2 separate regions of the Homo sapiens genome follow, and region 1 is linked to region 2. Evidence: promoter capture Hi-C in human tissues and cell types (Jung and others, 2019). All regions are on one chromosome and are shown on one strand. The core of a region is centred on a gene start or on the middle of the fragment in contact, and the rest is flanking DNA. Distances in the headings are between cores, read along the strand shown. Region 1 overlaps LONRF2 (LON peptidase N-terminal domain and ring finger 2). Region 2 holds the start of CHST10 (carbohydrate sulfotransferase 10).

Region 1 (6,659 bases), core at 606-3,105, 130 kb before region 2:
AGAATCGTGGAGAGCGGCAAGTTCTTCATACTCTGGACCCTCCACCTGATCAGGGAAAGAGGCACAGCTGTGTGAACCATTCACAGTAATGCACGTAACACAGTCAGCGACCTCTGCACCTCCACTAAGTGGATTTGTGGCAGTTAGCATTTTAATAATTCATCAGTTTCACAAAAATGGTACATGCTCAATATAGAAATCTGCATTTTTTGCATAGTTGAAATCTATCAATTGTATCCTGATTTTTCTCTTAATACCATAATATAAGCACATTTCCTGTAATTTTGAATAATGTTCAATGGCTGCATGCAATTATATATTTGAGATACATGCCAATTTACTTAACTATTCACGTAAGTTATTTAGAATATTCTAGCTTTTTTATTTTTAAAAATAACACAATAATATAAACATTTATGGAAAAGTTGTTTTGTTTTGTTTTGCTTTTTTGACAAGGGAGGGAGGTATGGTTTCCTCAGTGTAGTTTCCTAGAGACCTTGACAGAATTACCAAGTCAAAGGGTGACATTTTAAAAATTGTATTCCATATCACCAAACTATATTCCTAAAGGCACGACAGGGCAAGACTACACTCATTACATTGGCCTGGGCTGATGGACTCCAGCTTGTGGTCGGCCACAGCACCTTAGACTGACCAAGCTTGGCCTCTGGTCCCTATGTCACTATCACATCTGTCATTTAAATTACGCCTCAGTCCTGTTCAGGAACACCTGGTAGAGGAGGAAGAGCATGGGACTGGGAATCACGGGGCCAGGGTTTGGTCTGGCTTCATCACCAACTCTCATGTGTGAATCTAGCCAGTCTCACAGCCTCGTTAGGGCAGAGTTTTCTCATCTGCATAATAGGAATAAACCATGAAGGTCCTTTCCTGTTACAAAATTCCAGTACCTACAAAAACTACGGTGTGCTGAGAAATTATAATATAATGCATATACCACCCTCAATTTGATTTATACAAATCAAATATTCATATGTGATAGAGGATTTTCTTATAAAAATAAGCTAAAATTATTTCATGTTGTAGCTATTTAAGCCCCCATTTAAAATAAGCGCATACACTATTAAAAGCTGTCATCTACAACAACGGTCAATAAACCCTGCCGTCAGGTCTATCCATCCCACAGAGAGACCCTGAGAATTATCACTTTCAGCTGTAGCTTTGAAACCCAGCTTTCTGGTCCAGCCTGGGAGCTGGGCTCCCTGCTCTGCTCCCATGCACTGGGATGACCAGAAACAGCAGCTGGAGGAGGCACAGAGACAGTGTCCTGGGTGTGACTCCATTCACAAATCCTAAGTGTACACCACTGCCCCCAAAATGACTTCCAGTGTGATGTGGGGTGGCTACGTACCCTCACTTCCACAATTCCAAATGTCAACCAAAGAATTTAAAAGAGGGATACAATAATTCCAAGGATTTCCTCCTTTTAAGTATTTTAAAATTTCTTGCTGCAGTATAATTTACAGACCAAAAAGTGCATAGATCTTGTTGAGCTCAAAGAGTTTTCTCAACTGTATACACCAGTCTGACCATCACCCAAAACCAGATAGACATTTCCACTACTTAGAAAGATTCTTCACCACTCCCTCCAGTCAATTACAAAGCCAACCCCACAAGCCTTTTCTGACTTCTGTCCCCAGACTCTAGTTTTGCCTGTTCCTGGAAGTATACAGATGAAGCCACGCGGTATGTGTTCGTCCTGTGTCTGGCTTCTCTCACTTAGCATAATGTCTGTGAGAGTCATCCATATTGTTTCATGCACGAGTGGTTCATTTCTTTTTATTGACAGGTAGTATTCCATTGCATGAATGGACCACAATGTGTTTACTGACTCAAGTGTGATCAGCACCTGGGCTGTTCCTGGTTTGGGGCTATAATGGAGTAAGACTGTTATGGACATCCTTGTGTAAGTCTGTTGGAGAATCTCTCAAAACATTTTGCTAATTTGTCAAATTATATGTCCTGATATTTCTATTAGACACATGAAAAAATTCTTAAGGGTTAATAAATTCAAGTCTTTTATATTTAGCTTTGGGAGGTATTTTTTAAGTTGTAGATTTTGTCACATTCTGAATTAATACCAACCTAGAGAACAGGGACTGACAGACTGCTGTTCATGAGTCAAACCGTGCTCACCACCATGTTTCCGGAAGTCACATTTAACGGAAACCAGTCATGCTCATGCCTTTACACATTGTCTATGGCTGCTTTTGCACTACAAGGGCAGAACTGGGTAGCTTCGACAGAGACCACATGGCCTCTGGAGTCTAAAGTACTTATTAGCCGGCCCTTTACAGAAAAAGTTTGCCAGCTCCAGGGCTACAGCATCAAATACAAATCAAAAGCCTATTTTGCAATGCGCAGGTTTACATGTTGCATAAGTACAATAAGGTCTTTTTTTTTTTTTTTTTTTTTTTGAGATGGAGTCTTGCTCTGTCGCCCAGGCTGGAGTGCAGTGGCACGATCTCAGCTCACTGCAACCTTCAGCTCCCAGGTTCAAGCAATTCTCCTGCCTCAGCCTCCCAAGTAGCTGGGACTACAGGTGCCCGCCACCACACATGGTTAATTTTTTTATATTTTTAATAGAGCCAGGGTTTCACCGTATTAGCCAGGATGGTCTCAATCTCCTGACCTCGTGACCTGCCCACCTTGGCCTCCCAAAGTGCTGGGATTACAGGCGTGAGCCACCATGCCTGGCCAGATCATTTTTTTAAAAGGAGATTTCTGTACCAGCTCCCAACTCAGGTAAAAATCCACTGAGAAAATAAATAACTGCTGAAGGCAGGGGCTCATGCCTGTAGTCACAGCACTTTGGGGCTACTACACTTTGGTTGAGGTGGGAGGACTGCTTGAGCCCAGGAGTTTGAGACCAGCCTGGGAAACACAGGGAGACTCTGTTTCAACGACAAACAAAATTTAAATTAGCCATGTGTGGTGGTGTGCACCTACAGTCCCAGCTACTCGGGAGGCTAAAGCAGGAGGATCGTTTGAGCCTGGGAGGTCAAGGCTGCAGTGGGCCAAGATCATGCTGCTGCACTCTAGCCTGCACGACAGAACAAGACCTTGACTCAAAAATAAACAAATAGATAAATAAATAACTTAAGTGATGAATTAAGGACTTAAGTAATATTGTCAGTACAAGTTTGACAAAGCTTTTCCACAATGCAAAGGGAAGCGAGAGGACCGACTGCTATAAAATACACCAGTATGATAAGCCTTACCTTTTCATCTTCAAGATATTCAATGTCCGCTGTGTTATAGCCATCTCTGTGGCGGTGGCTTAGCACTCGGAACCGACTGATGCCAATCGCGTCTACAACAGAACTTCCATCAGGAAACGTTCTCACGTCCTTAATCTCCAGCATGCATCCATACTCTGAAAGCCTGAAAAGACAGTTAGGAGAAATGACTGTGATTTTTAAAATGCAGGGGGCCTTCTTTTTCCCTGGATGAGAGTTTACTTTTAAAAGGAATACAAAGCCACACAAAACAGTGTCTCCACATCAGACCAGCAAGGTTATTGTCGCTAAGAGACACGTGCACATGGTCGCTTCTGTTAGATGTTAAATATAGTGGTGATGGTGGCTGCAGGGGAAGGGCTCCAGGTGAGACAGGACTTGTGCCTTAGCGGTTCCAACGGGCTAGTGTTTTGGGAAGGACCCGAGAGATGGGAAGAGATGAAATCTCAAATGTGGCTCCTCAGCCACCTTGGCGGGGCACCATCAGGACTGCCCAGCTGGTGCCACGCACACACTCGGCTTTCCAAAGCTCTCCCCAGCTCTTACCCACACTCCGATTGTAACTATCACCCTTATCCTAGTGATATTCTCATGCTACCACGTGCCAAGCAACACACGGAGCAGTTTATAATACATATGAATTCAAGCCCACACTTAAAATTTGATTCATCAAAAGTCAACAAAGTGAAAAAACAAGCTATGAGTTCCATGTGCACTGAGAATATAGAACACTAAAAAGAATGTGAAAAACGACAAGGAAAACCAGATAAACCACAAAACATATGTCTCTTGAACCCACCAGAGGGTGGAGATTGCTCAGGGTAACCAAACAAAGATCCCACAGGGAGAGAGTAGGCAGAACCCAGGAAGAGACACAAAAGTGTGTAGGAAGCATTCAGCTATTTTTTTTTTAAACAAATTGCCAATGACCTTGTGTGGGCTGGCACCAGAGTGCAGGTCTGGAGAGCTGCACTCACAAAGGGAGTTTGCATCACACACAGGATCCTGTCCACAGATAAGAGCCTCCTTGATGAGTCATGCCCTGCAGTGAGGCAGGCTTGGAGGAGCTGACGTTTATCTGGAGGCCTCTGCTGGTGCTGGTTGCTGGGGCAGCAAGTCCTCCACCTTCAAAGGCACTCCGCTCCTCCTCCCTCCTGCCTTCGCCCACAAGGTCTTCACCTCATTCCAATTCTGCCAGCTCTGCCCTCCCCAACCAAAGTGCCGTGGAAAGCAGTCCCCGGCCACTGCCTTCATCTCCTTGCCTCCCCCTCACTCCTCCATATCCTACCGTTCCATTAAAATGACTCCAAAAGAAGTCAGAGATGCCCTCTGAATTGCTCAAATCACTTGACAGGCTCCTGTCTGACCTCCCTAAGGCACGGCCCTGCAGACTGTTGCTGAGCTAATGCTTCTGCTCTCCTGAACCCTCTCTAACCAGCCCGGCCCTTCACAGCCCCTACCTCTGCATGTCCCTCCTGCTCCATGCTGCCCAGGGTGGTATTCTAGGCTATGTCTATTCTCATTCCAAAGCTCTCCCCAGCTCTTACCCACACTCTGACTGTAACTATCACCCGTAACCTAGTGATGTTCTCACGCTACCACGTGCCAAGCACCACACACAGCAGTTTATAATATATACGAATTCAAGCCCACAAAACACGGAGGCTCAGAGGAATTAACTTCTCTAAGGCCACAGGGAGATTTAGAGCCAAAATGAGAACTCATGGCAGTGTGATTCTAAAGTTCTCATGGTGAGCAGCTTTACTACACGTCCCCCAAACTAAAGAGCAGCGATGATTCAAACTGCCACCTGGATGCCTCTACTTATATACTTAATAAAACTCTCTCTTCCTGGTATCTAACAGGATGATCTCATTCATAGCATGGTGAAACTGGAGGCGCCCTGAAGATTCCTCTTCAAGGGAGGACTGAATGCCCCAGCAACCAGCAGAGGCCTCCAGACAAATGTCAGCTCCTCCAAGCCTGCCTTGCTGCAGGGCATGACTCATCAAGGAGCCTCTTATCTGTGGACAGGAGCCTGTGTGTGATGCAAACTCCCTTCGTGAGTGCAGCTCTCCAGACCTGCACTCTGATGCCAGCCCACACAAGGTCATTAGCAATTTGTTTAAAAAAAGAAAAATAGCTGAATTCTTCCTACACACTTTTATGTCTCTTCCTGGGCTCTGCCTACTCTCTCCCTGTGGGATCTTGTTTGGTTACCCTGAGCAACCTTCACTCTCTGATGGCTTCAAGAAATACATGTTCTGTGGTTTATCTGTTTTTTCTTGTTTTTCTTGTTGTTTGGATGGGAATAACATTCTTTTCAGTGTTCTATATTCTCAGTGCACGTGGAACTCTTATAGCTTATTTTTTCTCTTTGCTGACTTTAATCAAATTTTCATATATTCTAATTTACTAATCTCTCCCTCTGTTATGTATTCTCAGCACCTTGTATAAAAAATCTTTCCCCACTCCTAATTATAAAGGCAGTCCCCAATATTTCCTCTTAAATGTTTTTATATTTTGTTTTTCACATTTCACATTAGGAATGCAAATGTGTTATTTTTTTATTTATGGCATAAGGTAAAGCTTTTTCCCCCCCTCTCATTTGGACCACCCACTAATTTTCTGGGCACCCTTTACTGAGTAGTTTGTCTTTTCTCATACAATTGTCTATAAATTTGGCGTCCACATATGAGTGGACCTGTTTCGGATCTCTACATTATTGTGTCACTGGTCTACTTACTAAGGCTTGTAAACTTGATATTACAGGAATGTTCTCCTGTTTGTTCAGCCAGATCTGGGCTTAGTCTTTTGCTTTTCTACACGGATTCTAAAATCAGCTTGAGCAAGTCCATGAAGAAGCTTCCTGGAGATGCTGACAGGAATTACTCTGGATTTGTGGAACTGGATAGAGATGGCATCTCTACAGCATTGAGTCTGTGCACCAACGGACATGGCATTTCTCTCCTTTGATTCAGAACTTCTTATCTTTCAATAAAATTTCAGAATTTTCTCCATAAAGGTCCTACACATATTTTAAAAAGATCTGTCCCTAGATATTTATGGTGGAAAATTCTGAGTGGCCCTAAAAATGCAGTCTCCTCTTCTTCCTGGGCACGTAGGTGGACTATATTTGCCAGGCTCCTTTGCAGCAGGTGTGAACAGGAGGCAGCCCCCTTTCTCCAGAGTCCTTTAAGAGCATGTGCACCTCCTCCATAGCTAGCACTTGAATGCAGTGACCTCATCATGACTATGTAGGGCTGACAAGGCCCTAAGGGATGGGAGGGTCCTGAGTCCCCAAATCAGTCCACAGAGGGGAATGACCTGCTGGCTTGCAACACCCTCTCTGGACAAAGACGTGAAACGAGGGGAGGTGAAAACCAAGCTTAGTGTGTTTTT
Region 2 (6,628 bases), core at 2,209-4,708:
TCCTCATGCAGAGTGGGCAAGCAGGGACAGGGGTGGGTCAGATGAGGAGGCCTGTCAATGGCCCTTTACTGACAACCTCACCTCATACACATACCAGGGATCACATGTCCAGGGCTCAACTTTTAAAACACAGCCAGACTCTAAAGGAAACTTCACACACACACACACACACAAAAACCTGGTAATGTACAAGGAACTGGTAACCCCAGGAGGATGACAGGTGAGATGAGAACTAGACAGACCAGGGCTGCAGAAACGGGGACATTTCACCATCAACCCTGAGCACATTCTGAACTACAATGCATTACCCTATCAATAGAATCATTAAATTACAACTCCATAATGCAAAGTGTGGCATATGAATTTATACTATAAAGTTCTATTGCATGTCACTGAGACTTTCAAATTCATAGTAAAGGTTTCTCTCAATCTGCGTACAGAAATTTCCTTTGTCTTCTCTGTTGTCATCCTTACAATTTACCGCCTTGGAACGATTAACCACCCTTAGTTAGGAGAATGAAAACACTCTTAACTGTCCAGTGAGAAATACACCTGTAGTTAAGACAGGTTTTCATGAACAATAATAATAATATACAGTAAACACCTGTATGGGGTTCACTCTGTACCAAGCACAGGTCTCAGCAGGTACTAACTCACATAATCCCAGCCTCAGAGCATGCTCCTATTATTATATTTAAGGAAACGTTTCTAAGCACACATTTACATACTCCTAATCAAGAGTTTACAATCTGCACAGGCAAGAAAAAAGGCAGGAACAATACTGAATGGCATGCTCAAATAACTGATGAGCTCACATTCTCCTTCACGTACCTTCTGCAGCCTGGGGCTCACATTTCCTTGCTGTGTTTCCCCTGAACTGAGGTTCTTGGTTCCTCTTGTCACTGGATAGGAAAATTAAAAAAAAAAAAGCATTATTAAAAGTTACAAGATCAACTTACTTAATACAACTTGGTTTATACTTAGGAAGGAAATAGTGAACCATTTTGATGATTCAAATATATTTGGCAGAATGGGTCTCTTACAAAGGCAGGTTATATTTGGATTTCTTGGTAAATGAATATTCTAAATGTACCAAAACCACTAGCTGTTTAAAAGACTCTTCCATGTAACTTAGTGTGAAAAATGAAACATTTTTTGTAGCAAAAATAATCAAATCCAATTATGCCTGTTTCGTATGTTTGAAATAGTTATAGGATTCCTATACAAGATGATCAATTCTTCCAATGCAAAATGTTCTCTGGATTTTCGTACTCCTTACACCTTTAGCACCTGGAAAATTTTAGCCAAATGCCATATCATAAAAAACCAGAAACAAGCCAAAGTCATGGAATTAGATCATGGATTTAGGAGATCTACCAAAATAAACATACAACTCATTTAACATACAATAAAGCCCAAGCTGACTGGGACACATGCAGCACGGTCTCTCTCTGCCTCCCTTTACTCTAAGAACTCAATGCTAAAATTAAAAGCAATTTCCTATTATGTTGATTGAAAGATTAAGCTTTATATACAGTCATTCATCACTTAACAATAGGGATACCTTCTGAGAAATGTATCGTTAGGCGATGTTCTTCTGCAAACATCAGAGCGTTCTTACATAAACCTAGATAGTACAGCTAACCACACACCTAGGCTATATGGTACAGCTGACCACACACCTAGGCTATATGGAATCATCTATTGCTCCCGGGCTACTAACTTGTACTGCTGTTACTGTACTGAATACTGTAAGCATCTGTAATACAATGGTAAGTATTTGTGTATCTAAAATTAGAAAAGGTAGAGTAAAAATAAGGTAGTATAGTCTTATGGGACCACTGTTGTATATGTGGTCCATCATTGTTAGAAACATCATGTACGGCATTTGATGGTCCTCACATCCAGGTTATCCAGAAGTGTATGAAAAGAAAATGAACTCCTGGGTTTCTGCAATCTCTAAGGTCCTGCAACCACCTCTCTCCCCTGTTTCTATTCCTGGCTCTCTCTCACCTTTTTATTGTATGAACTCCTCAAACACTGAAAAATGATCCGAATATAACTGCAAGTTGCCTGTGATGTTTACAAATTCTTTCCTTTCTTTGTTCAGTTTTGCAAACACTCCAATTTTCATTTCAGCGAAGAAGAGAATTTTCTGCTCAGGTATTTCTTTGAGATTCTATTCTTCAGGGTCAAGAGCAATTCTGAATTCTGAATTCCAATTCTGAGCCAAGATGGACTAAGCTCTTAATTATAATGGGGAGGGAAGGGAAAAGACCACTTCTCTCTTTGTGTCTTTTCATTTTAACCCAGTCACTGAAAAGAGTGAAGGAGGAGGTGGTTGGTTATCAGAGAGCCAGAGCTAAACTGAGCTGCCTAATTTTAACAGCGTCTGAGACATTTCTCACTCTGGCACTCTAAGCAATGCAATAACCCAACTCCTCATGGCCCAAAGCCCCAGACTCTGGTTTTCAGACAAAACAACAACAACAACAACAACAACAAAAACCCACCGTTATGACAGTCCTGCCGCTGAGCTAACCAGAACCTGGCTGCACTACTTTCCATTCACTGCCCAACCCTTTCCTGCCTTGCAGACTTGGAAAGCAAAAATGACATTTTGGAAAACCTGGTTCACCTTCCCAGCCAGAAGTGCAGAACTGCATGCCTCAACCTCCAACTTCGGACAGGCCTCCTGACAGCGAAGATCAGAGGCTCAGGGCACCCCGGGGCCCCTCAGGCAGGGAACGTGCATTCCCACCCCTGACTCCCCTCGCACCGAAGCTGCACATGCTCCTTCTTCCCTGCCTTCCTCTGCATGCTCCTTGGACCCAAGCTGAACCCTTTCTTCCTCTCTCCATCTACAATTACAAACGCAAATTCTCAGCCAAGGATGAAAGAAGTAAATTGTAGGCTCGCACAATATCAATAATTCCGCGGGTCACAGCATCCCGCACAAGGACGCCTTCTTATTGCATAATTAACGCGAGGAAGGCTCTTCCCGCTACTCCCGCGAACTAGGGAGGTCTTCAAGTCGCCAAAACACACCGGGATGTGGCTCGCCAGGACAAAACCCGCGGGTTCCCCGGTTTTTCCGTGCGCCCCGCGGCGGGGAGAGGGGCCCAGGCGCTGAAACCCACCCGCCTGCGCGTCCCCGAGCTCACCCTACTGGAGCGGCGCTCGTCCGGGTCCTTAGGCTCCTCCCCTGGCCCTGGGGGCGCCGCGCGGGTCGGGCTTCGCCGGGCCTGTGGGCGAAGCGCGCGGGGTCCTGGGAGCTCGGGAGGCCCGCCCCACCTTGCCCCGAGGCCTCCGCGCCGCGGCCCGTCGGGTCCCGGGATGTGGCGGCGGCGGCAGCGGAAGTAAGGAAGACGCCCGGCGCGCTAGACCGGCTTTGGGGGCCAGAACGCCGGCACCGCCTCACGCGGCCCCCTCGCGCCTATCCGGCCGTGCGCGCCGCCTGCCCGCGCGCGTCCCCGCCGCCGTCCCCGGCCGTGCGCGTTCCAGCGGGTCGCGGGGAGTGGGGAGGGGCGCGGCCGCGGGACCCCAGGCCCGGATCCCGAGTCTCCCTTTCTGCCGCTGCAAAAGCGTTCTTTCTGACCGAGACCTGCGGCCGGAACAAGTCCCGCTGGGCCTCCATCCAGAAAACAGGTTCGCTTTTTGAGAAAGAAAAAAAATCCCAAACTTGGAAAAAGGCAAAAAACCAAACCAAAACAACAACAAAGTCACACACACACACAAAACCACCTTGGAAAAATACAAAAAATAGATAAGTAAATTTCTTAAATCCCCAACTTGGAAAAAGGCCACTTGCTTGCGTTAAGGGTAACTTCTAGCATTTTCTAATAAGCCTACTTAGTAAAAGGGGGACGTTCTATTCTTTAAAGAACCCCCTTGGCTGTCCGGGTTGGGGATGTAACTGTTGTCTAGGTACAGTGGATTAACGAAGGACAATGATAACGGCCTGACCAGTTTACAGACCTGAAGAATTGTAACTTCTTAACCTGCAGAAATGGATAAGGCCTGAGTCAACCTCAAAGGTATTGGGATTTTATTGCCCCAAAGAAGATAAACTAGTTTTATTTTTATACAACCTACATGTTTGTTAACTACCCGACTATATCTGTGTCTATTTAGCAAACAAGTAAAATAGATACGTGTATGTATACACACACACACACACACACACACAATTTTTCAAAGCTTTCAAGGAACAAGCGTTTTTGTTTTTGTTTTTTTTCTTTTTTATTGGTTCCCTCCTTAATGAGTTAATAATATTGAGGGAGCTGGCTGTTTGAGTATTTCACTTCTAGCCCCATTACTAATCATGGTTTAAAGGTTCTGTCCCTCATGCAGAAGACGTTTACTGAGCCCTTTTTTGGGGCCCTGTGGTTGAGATGAGACATTGGGTTTCCCTTTGAGGATTTGAATCGATACACGTGCACGGCAGAAAAGAAGTAAGTAAATGTGAAGCTTGGATGTGATGCAGCATATTATGCAGGATTTAAGGATCAAGGCTCTGGGAATCAGACCACGTGGATTCAGAGCCTTAGTCACTGCATATGACTGTTGACCTTGTCACACTCTCATCTCTCTGTGTCCCAGTCTTCTCATCTACAGAATGTGGTACTAGGCCGGGCGTGGTGGCTCACGCCTGTAATCCCAACATTTTGAGAGGCGGAGGTAGGTGGATCACCTGAGGTCGGGAGTTCGAGACCAGCATGACCAACATGGAGAAACCCTGTCTCTAATAAAACTACAAAAAAAATTAGCCAGGAGTGGGGGCACGTGCCTGTAATCCCAGCTGCTCGGGAGACTGAGGCAGGAGAATTGCTTGAACCCAGGAGGCGGAGGTTGCGGTGAGTCGAGATCTCGCCACTGCACTCCAGCCTGGGCAACAAGAGTGAAACTCCTTCAAAAAAAAAAAAAAAAGTGTGGTACTAAAGAATATTGTAGAGGATGCATTTAAAATACAAAGCACAGTCATCCCGCAGTAGTAAACACTGCAACAAACACACACTATTGTCACTGTTATTACTGCATTCCCAAGATACTGTTCAAAACTTTAAAAGATGGAGTTTGTTCTAGAGGCTTACACATTGACAACTAAGGTAACTGAGGTTTTTTGGTTTTTTTTGTTGGAGTTTTTCAAAATAGTTCCTCTTTTTTTCCTATAAATGAATGTCTAGGAAAATATTAGTATTTAGTCTTTTTTTTTTTTTTGAGACGGAATCTCGCTCTGTCGCCCAGGTTGGAGTGCAGTGGTGCCATCCCAGCTCACTGCAACCTCTGCCTCCTGGGTTCAAGTGATTCTCCTGTCTCAGTCTCTCAAGTAGCTGGAATTACAGGTGCGTGCCACCACACCCGGCTAATTTTTGTATTTTTAGTAGAGACGGGGTTTCACCATGTTAGCCAGGCTGGTCTCAAACTCCTGACCTCAAGTTATCCACCCGCCTCAGCCTCCCAAAGTGCTGGGATTACACGTGTGAGCCAAATATTTAGTCTTTGTAGCAGGAGGATTGTTTCTAAAATAGCAGTTCGCAAAGAGTGATCTCCAAAAAGTGGATCTTTAGGAGTCTCCAAGATCCTTTCAGAGGATCTGCAATGACAAAACTGTTTTCATAGTTGAACTGGGACATTATTTGTCCTCTTTACAATGTAGACATTTGCTCTGATTGTGCAAAAGTAAGCACAAATCCCAGCAGTGGGACAACACCAAATCAGTAGTAACTGCATCCTTCACCACCATGCACTTGCAGTAAAAACAAACACAAAGTGTCACTGAAGAATGTCCCCCGTGAAGCAGTCATGTCCCTCATGACAGGGTGGGAAATGCACAGAAACAATCCTGCTGCATCCCAAGGATGATGGTTGCTGAAGGCCGTGCCATTGTGCAATGGCCTGCAATGCACAAGCTGCAGCTCTTTTTTATGGAACGCCAGTTTTACTTGAAAGCAGAACTGACAGACAAACTGCAGTTACCCAGATTTGGGCATTTGGCAGACATTTCCTCCAAAATGAATGACATGGGCCTGTCACTTCAAGAAAAACAAATGATAGTGTTTGTTGTCTGTGATAACATTCAAGCTTTCAAGTGAAAAATCAGACTTTTGCAAAACCTGTATCCATCACTGTAAGTTTGACAGCTTCCCAATATTTAAAGATTTTTCTGATGAGATCAGAAGTAGTACTAACAACTAGTTGTAAAAAAATATTGTATAGTGATCAACCAGTTGTAGTGTAATAAGAAATATGTATTTGGCCTTTGACCCTGGTTCCTGACTGATACAGTTTGGCTGTGTCCCCACCTAAATCTCAGTTGTAGTTTCTGTCATCCCCACGTGTCATGGGAGGGACCCTGTGGGAGGTAATTGGATCCTGGGGGCAGTTACCCCCATGCTGCTGTTCTCCTGATAGTGAGTGAGTTCTCATAAGATCTGATAGTTTTATAAAGGGCTTCCCCCTTCACTCAGCACTCATTCTCTCTACTGCCGCCCTGTGAAGAGGTGCCTTCCACAATGATTGTAAGTTTCCTGAGGCCTCCCCAGCCATGTAGAACTGTGAGTCAATTAAACCTCTTTTCTTTATGAATTACCCAGTCTTGGGCATTTTTTCATAGCAGTGTGAGAAT

The links. Contacts are between HindIII fragments. The study calls those that stand out against the background at their distance.
Region 1: a fragment that was not itself captured here is called in contact with the fragment with the promoter of CHST10 in region 2 in 1 of the 25 tissues and cell types used here (IMR-90 fibroblasts).

Annotation. Positions count from the first base shown.
Region 1 is chr2:100,287,019-100,293,677 of GRCh38, forward strand. It overlaps LONRF2 (LON peptidase N-terminal domain and ring finger 2), which reads right to left. Exons shown (of 12, transcript NM_198461.4): 10 at 3,240-3,402; 11 at 1-45. Among named protein-coding and RNA genes, the nearest start is that of LONRF2, 32 kb to the right of the region's middle. RefSeq lists an enhancer at 3,913-4,553. The HindIII fragment of the contact is 5,305 bases long and covers 1-4,508 here.
Region 2 is chr2:100,414,210-100,420,837 of GRCh38, forward strand. It overlaps CHST10 (carbohydrate sulfotransferase 10), which reads right to left and starts at 3,459. Exons shown (of 7, transcript NM_004854.5): 1 at 3,165-3,459; 2 at 832-902. RefSeq lists silencers at 2,955-3,104, 3,115-3,564. The HindIII fragment of the contact is 6,609 bases long and covers 1-5,277 here.